Linked DNA regions of Homo sapiens: region 1 is linked to region 2. Evidence: promoter capture Hi-C in human tissues and cell types (Jung and others, 2019). All regions are on one chromosome and are shown on one strand. Each heading gives the region's core, a stretch centred on a gene start or on the middle of the fragment in contact. The rest is flanking DNA. Distances are from core to core; before and after follow the strand shown.

Region 1 (5,870 bases), core at 284-2,783, 570 kb after region 2:
TTTTGGTACAGACAGGGTTTCACCACCTTGGCTGGGCTGGTCTCGGACTCCTGACCTTGTGATCCACCCGCCTCAGCCTCCCAAAGTATTGGGATTACGGGCGTGAGCCACTGTGCCTGGCCTCGGGTAGAATGTTTTCAAGGTGCACTCGTGTCGTAGCGTGTATCGGTACTTTATTCCTCTTTATTGCTGAATAATATTCCGCCGCATGGAGGCACTGCATTCCATTCATCCTTGCATCTGTGACAGATGTTTGTTGTTTCCACCCTCTGGCTGCTGTGAGGAGTGCACCCCTGGGACCAGGGTCATTGTGTGAAGCAGGCATCCTTTCCTCTTCACTGCCGCCTGGGATTCCCTGGTGACTGCGCCACTGTTCCTGTTCTTCTGCTGCTGAGCACTTGGGCTGTTTGCTCCTGTGTCCATCCTTGTCCTGTCCCCCTGGTGCACACGTGTTTCTGAAGGATGTACACTCAGGAGTGGGGTTGCTTGGGCGAGCGTTTGTTTATGTTCAGCTTCACCCAAGAGGTGCACAGGGGCTGTGCCAACTCACACCCACACCTTTATTTCTTATATACAAACTTTTCCTCTACTTGAGATTTCTCCTGGTTGTGGTGTGAGCCATGGTGTCTTTTCTCAGGTGGCCAGCCGGTTGTTCAGGGACATTATTAATGAACAGTCTCATCTTTTCCTCTGATGTGAGGTCCTGCCTTTCTCCTGTCTTGAACTCCTCCTGAGGCTGTGTCCCTGGGGGTTGTTCTGGCCTGTTTGTGTCCTGTTGCGACACTGTCCTACTCCTCCTGCTGGGCTCGCTGCTGGCCCCAGGAAGGAGACACCCTGTCGCCCAGCCTAGCCCCAGCCCTTCATCTCATCCACCCATACAGCCAGGGAAACTGAGGCAAGGTACACTTTGGGCTTGGTCTTTCTTGTGACTTCTTGAGTTGGGCAGTGGGCCCAGGCAGAGAGCGGGGCCTTGGTGTGTGTGAGGGTATTTTCTTAGAGCCCCTTGAGAAGCCAGGAGTGGACTGGGGGAGACGGGGAGGTGCAGGCAGGACCTCTGACCTATGCTGGAGGCCAGCAGAGCCGGGGTTGATCTCAAGGCCGCCATTTACAGGTCAGGTGACCTTGAGCTGGGTCTCTAGCTGGGTCTCTGTTTTCTCATCTCTACAAGGGGGTTGAGAATCGAATGAGACACTGGATTAGAATGTGCAGGGCTGCCTCTGAAGGCATCAGCATTGACTGAGGGGTTGCTGCGGCTGTCCCATCCTCATCCTGTAGGCCAGGGTGGTCCTGGCTTGTTCTGGTGTGTTCGGCAGCCCAGCCCCATTGGGCCTCTTCTGCACGTGCCACCATCTCAACCCGACAGACCTCACTGCCTGAATTTGCTCTAGGACTCAGCCCCCTCCCTTAGGTGGTCTGTGAGCCTTTTGCATACCTGACCCTTGCCCCACTCACATCGGGCCTTCTTGTCGCCCCAACCTGTGGCCCTGGGTAGCCCTTGTGTGTCACCTCTGTCCCTCACAGCGCTGACCTTCTTTCCCCTCAGGAACCCTTTGCCGGGGCTCCTTTGCCCCCTTCCCAGCCTCCCCCAAGAGCTCCTCAAGGGCAGATGGCCCCGGGCCCGGCACACGCCAGATCTCAGAAATGCTTAGTGGGGCGCCTGGGACTGCCTGGCCTTTGAGGGTGACCCTGGTCCCTTGCCTCCCTGCCCCGGGCAGGTGCCAACATCGCCTCTGGTGAGGAAGTCGCCATCAAGCTGGAGTGTGTGAAGACAAAGCACCCCCAGCTGCACATCGAGAGCAAGTTCTACAAGATGATGCAGGGTGGCGGTGAGCGCAGGGTGGGCGGCGGCGGGCGCCGGGTGGGTGGCGGTGGGCAGCCATGAGCACAGGGTGGGCCGGGCGTGGCTGGCTGCCTGCCTCTGACCCCTGACAGAGGCCCTCTGCTTGACCCCCAGTGGGGATCCCGTCCATCAAGTGGTGCGGAGCTGAGGGCGACTACAACGTGATGGTCATGGAGCTGCTGGGGCCTAGCCTCGAGGACCTGTTCAACTTCTGTTCCCGCAAATTCAGCCTCAAGACGGTGCTGCTCTTGGCCGACCAGATGGTGAGTCCCCGTCCCCTCCATCCCCAGCCAGATGCCTGTGGGCCCAGGATACCAGCCCTGCCTCCTGCCCCCAGAGGATGCCAGAGGATGGGCCTGGGCCAGGGGACCTTGTCCACTGGCTATAGAATTGTAGGTGTTTATTTATTTTTTGAGGCGGAGTCTCACTCTGTCGCCCAGGCTGGAGCGCAGTGGTGCGATCTCAGCTCGTTGCAACATCCGCCTCCCAGGTTCACGCGATTCTCCTGCCTCAGCCTCATGAGTAGCTGGGATTACAGGCACCTGCCACCACGCTGGGCTAATTTTTGTATTTTTAGTAGAGACAGAGTTTTACCAAGTGATCCGCCCATCTTAGCCTCTCAAAGTGCTGGGATTACAGGCGTGAGCCACCGTGCCCAGCCAAGTTGTTTATTTAAAATGTGATTTCAGGCCCAACTCCAGACCTGCCGAGTCAGGGCCTGGGACTCTGCCTGGGGTAGTTTTATTTATTTATTTCAAAAATATCATTTAATTGTAAGAAATAGAGATGGGGGTCTCACTGTGTTGACCAGGCTGGTCTCAAACTCCTGGCCTTGAGCAGTCTTCCCATCTTGGCCTCCCAAGATGGGAATTAACACGGGATCACAGGCATGATCCACCACGTCTGGCCTGCCCTGGGTAATGTAAAGCCTGCGGTCGGTCACACAGACCTGGTCCTGTTCCAGACCAGTGACCGTAGGTGAACGCCGAACCTCTCTGAGCCTCAGTGGCCTCATGTGAGAGTCTCTCCTTTGTTGGTTGTTGAGGGGATTAGGTGAGATACCATTCAGCGCCTTGCCAAAACAGGCCCCTCTAACAGGCTGTTGTTAAGTACTAAGCCCTTCATCAGCATAGGGAGGAAAGCTTCTTAAAAATACAAAACTGTAGAATTTTGAACTTGGAATGGAATGTGGAGATCTCGTACAGGGGTTTTAATCTTGGTCTGCAAAAGCCCTGCGATGTAGGCTGAAGGTGTGTGAGCAGAGGGTCGCCAGAGCCCCTCATGGTGTGAAACTCAAGAAAGGTGCAGGAGATGTTGAGCTGTGCTGAACCTGGGGCCAGAGCCAGAGGCCACGGCATGTGGATGGATATTAGTTTGAGTTTTAAAAACTCGACTGAAAAGGTGGCTCAAGTCTGTAATCCCAGCACTTTGGGAGGCCGAGGCAGGCGGATCTCCTGAGATCGGGAGTTTGAGACCAGTCTGACCATCATGGTGAAACGCCATCTCTGCTAAAAATACAAAAAATTAGCCAGGTGTGGTGGCGCGTGCCTATAGTCCCAGCTATTCGGGAGGCTGAGGCAGGAAAATCACTTGAACCCTGAAGGCAGAAGTTGCAGTGAGCCGAGATTTTGCCACTGCACTCCAGCCTGGGCAACAGACCGAGACTCCATCTCAAAAAAAAAAATATCAAAGGAAAGAGGGCCATGTGCCTGTCTGAGTTTGGCATCCTTCGGAAGCCCTGTCTTTTGTGTTCTGCCTCTGTCACCTCTTCCTGGTCTAGGCTTCCCCCATGTTCCCTGCCTGCCCCTCGCCCACATCTGTTGCCTCTCTGGCTCCCTAAGTCCTGTGAGTGTGGGGCCGGGCAGGCAAGCCTTCCATGGGGAACCAGTTGCCTTTCTAGCAGACTCTTCATTTCTGGATCTTCCCATTAGCTTTCCTGCAATACTCTCTTTCTCTGTCTCACAGCCAACTTGGTGAACTCCCCCTTTAGAGTTCATCCTGATGTCACATTTTCCAGGAGGCCTTCTCTGGCCTGCCCCTTAGTTATCCTTCATGGTCGAAGGCAGGCCTTTCTCCCTCTGCCTTTCCACCTCTGTGGCCCCAGCCCCTGCCTGGCCCAGAGTGCTAGGCAAGGGCCCCTCTGTTGAACAAATGGCCCCCCTCCTCCCCAGATCAGCCGCATCGAGTATATCCACTCCAAGAACTTCATCCACCGGGACGTCAAGCCCGACAACTTCCTCATGGGGCTGGGGAAGAAGGGCAACCTGGTCTACATCATCGACTTCGGCCTGGCCAAGAAGTACCGGGACGCCCGCACCCACCAGCACATTCCCTACCGGGAAAACAAGAACCTGACCGGCACGGCCCGCTACGCTTCCATCAACACGCACCTGGGCATTGGTGAGGGAGCCAGGCCTGGAGCAGTGTGCACCCGGGGCCACTGGCTGGGGCCCAGCTCTCTGGAGCCCTCTCACCCCCTACCCTGATGGAGGCCCCCAGGCTCTTTTCTAGTGAGAAAGTCCCCACCCCGTCTGCCCCCAAGCTCGTGCTTATTCCGTGTCCTTGCACAGTCGGGTCTTCCCCTTCGTAAGCCAAGCTGTGTGTGCCGGGCGCCTTCCCTGGCCCTGCTTCCTCCTCCGCCCTGTTGGTGCAGGCTGGAAGATACAGGCTCAGAGGTTTAACATGGGTTGCTTAAGGTCATGCAGCTTAGCTAATGCCAAAGCTGGACTTGACCCCGGCCCTGTCTGATGCTGAAGCTTGTGACCTCTCCACGGGGTGGGCCAGGCAAGGGGGCAGTAGGTGCCCTCTCATAGTCATTGAATGATTAAGTGCCTGAACTGGAAAAACTAGGCCCAAATTAAGTTGAGAAGGCCCTGCCTCAGGCTTCTTCTCTGTAGGAGGAGGATAATAGCAGTGCCTGTTTAAAATGCGTGCAGTGAGCAACATCCGACGTGGGGGCAGGAGGGTCCTGGTGCATTGTGAGGAGCATGACCCAGAGGATGAGTTAGGGGCCTGAGTGGACCCCTGTCCCTCACCTAGTCTTTGACTCTCTGTGCAGAGCAAAGCCGTCGAGATGACCTGGAGAGCCTGGGCTACGTGCTCATGTACTTCAACCTGGGCTCCCTGCCCTGGCAGGGGCTCAAAGCAGCCACCAAGCGCCAGAAGTATGAACGGATCAGCGAGAAGAAGATGTCAACGCCCATCGAGGTCCTCTGCAAAGGCTATCCCTGTGAGTAGCCCAGTGGGAGGGGACATGCCTGGGGGCCCCTGAGGCACTGTCTAAGGGAAAGGTGAGGCCATACAAAGCCCACGCTGGGGCTAGGCGCGGTGGTTCACGCCTGCAGTCCTGGCACTTTGGGAGGCCAAGGCAGGTGGATCATGAGGTCAGGAGGTCGAGACCAGCCTGAGTAACATGGTGAAACCCTGTCTCTACTAAAAATACAAAAATTAGCCCCACCTGTAATCCCAGCTACTCAGGAGGCTGAGGCAGGAGAATTGCTTGAACCTGGGAAGCGGAGGTTGCAGTGAGCCGAGATTGCACCATTGCACTCCAGTCTGGGTGACAGAGCGAGACATCATCTCAAAAACAACAACAACAAAGCCCACACTGGGCTGCCCCACAGCCCTTGGCACCTGAGCAGTAATCCCTGGCTCTTTGCCACTCCTTGGCACAGCCAGAAGGCCCGGTTTCCCTGTCCTGGCTGTTACACCTGTTGCTTCCCGGCCTACATTCCTGCCTCATCTCCCAAGGGCCCTCTCCCCAGTGTTTTTGAGGAGGAATTGGAAGTTTTCCTCTTCTTGCTTAGGTTGTGTTAGAAGGTCCCGTCAGGCTCTTGCAGTCCTTTGAATTTATGGCAACGATTGATCTGTGGGCCCCAGGGTGCTTGGCGAGGGCAGCGGAAGAGCTGTGGGCATGGATGGCTCCTGGATCCGGCTACCTGGCAGAGGCTCCTGGCCACTGTTCGCAGGTCTTCCCTTGCTCTGAAAGCAGCAGAGGCTCTGCTCACGGGCAGGCTAGGCTTTCATCACA
Region 2 (5,991 bases), core at 3,481-5,980:
GTGGTGGTGGGCACCTGTAGTCCCAGCTACTCGGGAGGCTGAGGCAGGAGAATGGCATGAACCCAGGAGACAGAGCTTGCAGTGAGCCGAGATCGCGCCACTGCACTCCAGCCGGGGCGACAGAGCGAGACTCCATTTCAAAAAAAGAAAAGAAAAAAAAAAGAAAGACAGTTGTTGCCTTTTTTGGGGTTGAAATTTGAACCCAAAAAATCACTAAGTCAAGCTGGGGACTGCATCAGGCAAACTTGGCTCCCATTTTTTCCCCAAATAAGATAGTTACAAAGATTAAAAAACTACATATCTCCTTCAGAGTTTGCCCCCAAGGAATTTCCATGTGGGCCTCAGCATCTTTACCCTAAAACAGTTCTGTTGAATTTCACCTTGGCAATGTAAATTGATAGTTTATCTTAACAGATGCGGGACAAGGACAGAACTCAAAGTCATCCCTCTTCCCACCCGAGACAAATGCATATCTGATTGCTTCCTCCGCCTGTTGCTTATGTAAAAATGCAGATTCACTGAGACAGACTGAGGCATAAGTGACTCTTCCTCTACCCTCCTCACATGTAAATTGTGTACTCAGTGAAAGGCTGATCAGAATCAAAATAATACAACCTTTTGTCTCTTATCTACCTACCACCTGGAAGCCCCCACTTCGAGTTGCCCCACCTTTCCAGACTGAACCAATGTACATCTTAAATGTACTGATTGATGTCTCATATCTCCCTAAAATGTATAAAACCAAGCTATACCCCTATCACTTTGGGTACAAGTCATCAGGACCTCCTGAGGCTATGTCACGGGCACGTCCTTAACCTTGGCAAAATAAACTTTCTACATTGATTGAGACTTGTCTCAGATAGTTTTGGTTCACAATTTCATAGGAAACTGATTTGCCCTCTGTCTGGGCAACAACTCACACAGGCTAAGAGATCAATTTTTTTCCTTTGTGATGTTACACCAAACCTCAGAACTATAGACTGTCAGAGGTGGAGGGGATTTTTTTCTCATAGAATAGAGACTATCTTCTCCAGGTGCTCATAAACAAGGGAAAAGCATGTGAGAAGTCCATAAATCTCTCCAAAATTTTGGAATGACTTGGAAATAACAGATTTTCAAAAGAGTCACCTGCAGCTTGTCGCAGTGGCTCACGCCTGTAATCCCAGCACTTTGAGAGGCCAAGGCGGGCGGATCACGAGGTCAGGAGTTTGAGACCAGCCTGGCCAACATAGTGAAACCCCGTCTCTACTAAAAATACAAAAATTAGCCTGGCAAGGTGGCGCGCCTATAGTCCCAGCTACTCAGGAGGCCAAGGCAGGAGAATCACTTGAACCTGGGAGGCGGAGGTTGTAGTGAGCCAAGATCACGCCACTGCACTCCAGCCTGGGCAACAAAGGGAGACTCCACCTCAAAAAAAAAAAAAAAAAAAGTCACCTGCCAAAAAATATAGAGCATGAAAAAGGGCCAGTTCCTCCCCCATTTTTGAAGTTGAAAAACTAAGATCCAGAGAGTAGAAAAGGACTTGTACAACATCACACGATTACCAAAAGAAAAGGGATCCAAGCCTGGCTGCCCGAATTCCCACTTCATCTCATCACATCCCTCCTCTACTCAAAACTCCCTCACGCTTCCCACTGCCTGAGACAAAGTCCAAACCTACCCAGCATTCAAGGCCCTTCCCAAGTTCAGTCCAACCCATCTTTCCATTGCCATCCTTTGCCGTACTGCCCCAACCCATGCCATAGCAGACTTCTTTCCCATCCCCAAAACACACTCTCAGGCTCTGATGTGCTTGTTCAAGTTGACACCTCCACCCGGGACACCCTTCCCATTCTTCACTTGTAGGCCAATTCCCATTTGTCTTTCCGGCCCCAAATCAGAGGTCTCCACCTCTGAGAAGCCCTCACAGCCTCACCTCCACGTGGTAGGTTGCTCCCCTATGTCCACTCCCAAGACATCCTGTACAGACTCTTGTGGCAGGCTTATAATGCCTCCCCGAAAGATGTCCGTGTCCTAGCCCCTAGCCCCCAGAACCTGTGGATAGGATACCTTACTTACCATCCATGTTACCCTATGGTAAGAGGGTCTTTGCAAATCTGATTAAGTTGAGGTTGAGACGGAAAGATCATTCTCAATTATTTGGGCAGACCCAATGTAATCACAAGTGTTGTTAAAAGAAAGAGGCAGAAGCCAGGTGCGGTGGCTCACGCCTGTAATCCCAGTACTTTGGGAGGCTGAGGCGGGTGGATTACTTGAGGTCAGGAGTTCGAGACCAGCCTGGCTAACATGGTGAAACCCCCATCTCTACTAAATACAAAAATTAGCCGGGTGTGGTGACGCATGCCTGTAATCCCAGCTACTTGGGAGGCTGAGACTGGGAGAATTGTTTGAAACCGGGAGGCAGAGGTTGCAGTGAGCCGAGATTGTGCCACTGCACTCCCACCTGGGTGACTGAGCAAGACTCCATCTCAAAAACAAAAACAAAAGAAAGAAAGAAGCAGGAAGTGAGCAAAGGGATCGTGGAAACAGAGATTTGAGTGATGAAGCCATGAGCCAAGAAATGCCAGCAACATTTGGAAGCTGGATGAGGCACGGAACAGATACTCTCCTTGACCCTCCAAAAAGGGACCAGCCCTGAGGATACCTTCACTTGGGCCCAGTAACACTGATTTGGGACTTCCCGCCTCCAGAGTCATCAGATAACAAATGTGAGTCATTTTAAGCCACTGAGCTTGTGTTAATTTGTGAGAGCAGCAACACGAAACTCCTACACCTTTATTCTAGCATTAGTCACACTGTGTGACAGGTGCCGTTCTCACTCCACTGACAGCTCCTCAGCCTGGGGCACCTTTGTTTCCTGATGGTTTCACACAAAGCCTGGTGCTTCACAAGGGCTCACAAACACTGCTGAATGAATCAACAAGTGGACTCACCTGCTTCATCCCCCGCCTGTCTCCGTCAGCCTGAACACACACACACTGTCATACCCACTCCTCTCACCTGCTCACCCACCACCACCCACATCTCCCAGGAGGACATTTCTATTTTTACCACAGCAGCTCACCTTGGGCTGGCCAGCAAATAGCTGTTTCCCTGGAACATACTGATTTTAAGTGAGGAGAGGGATTTCTCTCAAGGTAATAATTGGACAAATCTGCTGGGAGAAAAAGACTAACATTTTGCTATGGTGGATTTGAAACCCAAGAATTGGCATTGTAGCACAGAAACGCAAAAATCTTTCCTAATGAGCCATTGATGTTCGCAAGACACAACCCTGACTCTTCACAATCCCCATTCCTCCCCACCCCATCTCAGCCCCAAGGTGGTCACTGGAAGGATGGTGAAATCTGTATTTAATGACACTGAAAGATGTCCACTTTATAGCATTAAGGGAGAAAAGCAGATTCCAGAACAGTGTGAATAGCGTGATCCCATTTTGTTAAAAAATTAAATCTACAGACAATGTGTATGTGTATGTATATACATACATACATAGGTGTACGTGAGTTTATGTACGCATAGAGCAGAGGCTGGAAGATTGGTGAAGATGTTAACAATGGTTTTATGGGGGTTATGGACAGTTGTTTTATCTGTATTTTTAAAATTGTTTTACAAAGAACAAGACTACTAACATAATGGGAAATAAAGTTCAAGTAATTTCAACATTTAAAAAGTGGAGCGTTTTGCGCGGCAGGGCTATTTTTTGTGTGTCCGTTCCTGGACAGCCCCAGCTCGATCCCCCGCCCCTCCTCAAGTGGGAAGCTGGGATCTGGGCTCCCCAGAGCAATGGCGGAAGCTTCGCGCAGCTGCGGGCGGGGAGAGGGACGCGGCCAGGTCGGGGGGCCGGGAGGGGTGCTGGGAATCGGAAAACACAGATATGACCGCGAAGGCGGTTTCTGCCGAATGACCAGATGATGACCCGCTGTGGGCCCAAGGCGGAGTGCGGGGAGCCCGTTCCTGCCCGCGGTCCCTCTCCCTCCCCCACTGCCACACCGGCCCCGCCGAATCCTCCCCGGTCTCCTGGGCGAGGACAGGTGCCGCCCGAGACCCCGGCCGCAGACAGATGCCCACGGTCACTCCGGCCTTCCTCGGCCCCATTCGCCGCACACCCCCTTCCTGCGGTGGCGTTTTTGTTTTAACTCTTCTGAACTGGTTACAAAACCACCCTCCCACGAATACATAAATAATGGGTGGGGGGCGATGTTTTAAAGAAATTCCCGCAAGGCCTGGCAAGGCAACAGCAACTGCATTTCTGCTGCATCATATTTAACTGTTTGCAGGCTGCTGCGGGAGATGCGCGGTGGCGGCGAGACTCGGGCTCCACAGCCCTTCTCCGCCCGGGGCCTGGCGAGACTCGCGTGGGGATTAAGAGGCAAGGAGAGGGTGTCAGCGATCGGGCGCCGGCAAGATGTGAGGGGGGGTGATAAGCGTAAGGCCGCAGCGTGCCCACAAGCCGGGCACCCATCGGGTCGGCCGGCAATTGCTCCCTCCGCCCGCGCGGCCCCTTTAAGAGCCAGCGCGCGCCCCCGCCCCGCGAGCGCCGACTTTCCCTAGCAACCGCCCCGGGGGAGGGGGAGGTCCTGGCAACCGCGCGCCAGCCGCGAGGATCACGTGACGGCCCGCAGCTGGAACGCGAGCGCGCGCCCCGCCGCGCTCCCGCCCGCCGGGGCCTGGGCGCTGCGGCGCGTGCGCGAGCGGTGCCGCACCGGCCGCGGGCGCAGGGAGTATTATGGGCTGTGGGTGCCGCTGAGCAAGATGGAGCTGTCTGCAGTGGGCGAGCGGGTCTTCGCGGCCGAATCCATCATCAAACGGCGGATCCGAAAGGTGAGCCGCCGCCCGGGGCGGGCCGCCGCTGTCCGCAGCCGGGGCCGGGGCCGGGGGCCCTCGGGGCGAAGCGGTCCCGCTAGCCCGGCTCCCTCGCCCAGCCCCGCGCCGCCGCCTCCTCGCGTCCCCGCATCCTCCCCACCCCCACCCCCGTTTTTCTCCCCTCTGTTTTTCAGGGACGCATCGAGTACCTGGTGAAATGGAAGGGGTGGGCGATCAAGTGAGTGTCGCGGGGTCCGGGGGCGTCGCGGGAGGGGAGGCAGCGGGCACCGGGGCCTGGGGTGGGGGTGCGCGCTCTTGCTCTCGCCGCGTGCCTGTCCCTCTCTGGTCTTCATCCTGATTTTGTGCGTTTGTGACTCGGCAGGTACAGCACTTGGGAGCCCGAGGAGAACATCCTGGACTCGCGGCTCATTGCAGCCTTCGAACAAAAGTGAGTTGTTGGGGAAGCTGGCAGGGGCTGCGAGGCCGAGGCTCGGCTGGGGCGCCGCGCGGGGAAGCGGGAGAGCCGGGGAGGGCAGCGCGGAGTGGGGCCCGGGAAGGGGCTCTTTTTAACCTCTGGTGTTTTTCGGCCGCAGGGAGAGGGAGCGTGAGCTGTATGGGCCCAAGAAGAGGGGACCCAAACCCAAAACTTTCCTCCTGAAGGTAACCTGGCCCAGCCCCAGCAGCATCCCCCTCTCGGGCCCCCAGCCCCGGCACAGCACGGGGCCTGGAAGGGAGGGACAGATACGCGGCCGCCCAAGCGGGCCGGCCTTTTCAGAGGGGCCCCAGCTGGGCAGGGGGTGGTTGTGAGCCCCCCCAGAAGCCCCTGATGGCAGGCCTCAGCCAGCATCAGCTTCAACAAGAGGGTTTTGGGACTGGGGATAATCCTCCCTGTTGAAACCAGGGGCTGGGGATGCCTTTAGGGCTCCAGGAAAGGGGGTGGCTGAGGCAGGTGGGGGATGCCCATGGGAAGGGGGCATTTGTTTGAGCTGTTATGACTGTGCTGGGAGTTGGAACCCAGGGGGAGAGTGAGTGGGGTCCCACCTCCTGGCAGGGCACAAGGAGAGGATTTGGGGGACCACCTGCCTCCCTGCCCCCAGCTTCCCCCGTTCAGTCTTTCAGGATTTGTTCTTCATGGCTCCCCTCCTTTCTTGGGGATCCAACTTGAATTTGACCTCAAATCATTTT

The links. The method cuts DNA at HindIII sites, captures the fragments that hold promoters and counts their contacts. A contact is called where the count stands out against the background at its distance.
Region 1: a fragment that was not itself captured here is called in contact with the fragment with the promoter of CBX6 in region 2 in 1 of the 25 tissues and cell types used here (hippocampus).

Annotation. Positions count from the first base shown.
Region 1 is chr22:38,299,094-38,304,963 of GRCh38, reverse strand. TPTEP2-CSNK1E (TPTEP2-CSNK1E readthrough) reads left to right here. Exons shown (of 15, transcript NM_001289912.2): 7 at 1,716-1,826; 8 at 1,955-2,103; 9 at 4,012-4,240; 10 at 4,899-5,069. It overlaps CSNK1E (casein kinase 1 epsilon), which reads left to right. Exons shown (of 11, transcript NM_152221.3): 3 at 1,716-1,826; 4 at 1,955-2,103; 5 at 4,012-4,240; 6 at 4,899-5,069. Among named protein-coding and RNA genes, the nearest start is that of CSNK1E, 15 kb to the left of the region's middle. RefSeq lists enhancers at 4,889-5,562, 5,445-5,870. The HindIII fragment of the contact is 4,513 bases long and covers 1-3,789 here.
Region 2 is chr22:38,870,955-38,876,945 of GRCh38, reverse strand. It overlaps CBX6 (chromobox 6), which reads left to right and starts at 4,730. Exons shown (of 5, transcript NM_014292.5): 1 at 4,730-4,824; 2 at 5,001-5,044; 3 at 5,189-5,254; 4 at 5,400-5,466. The coding sequence starts at 4,756. RefSeq lists enhancers at 2,392-2,571, 2,388-3,587, 3,424-3,973, 3,974-4,524 and silencers at 4,519-4,778, 4,809-4,958, 5,059-5,108. The HindIII fragment of the contact is 23,948 bases long and covers 1,676-5,991 here.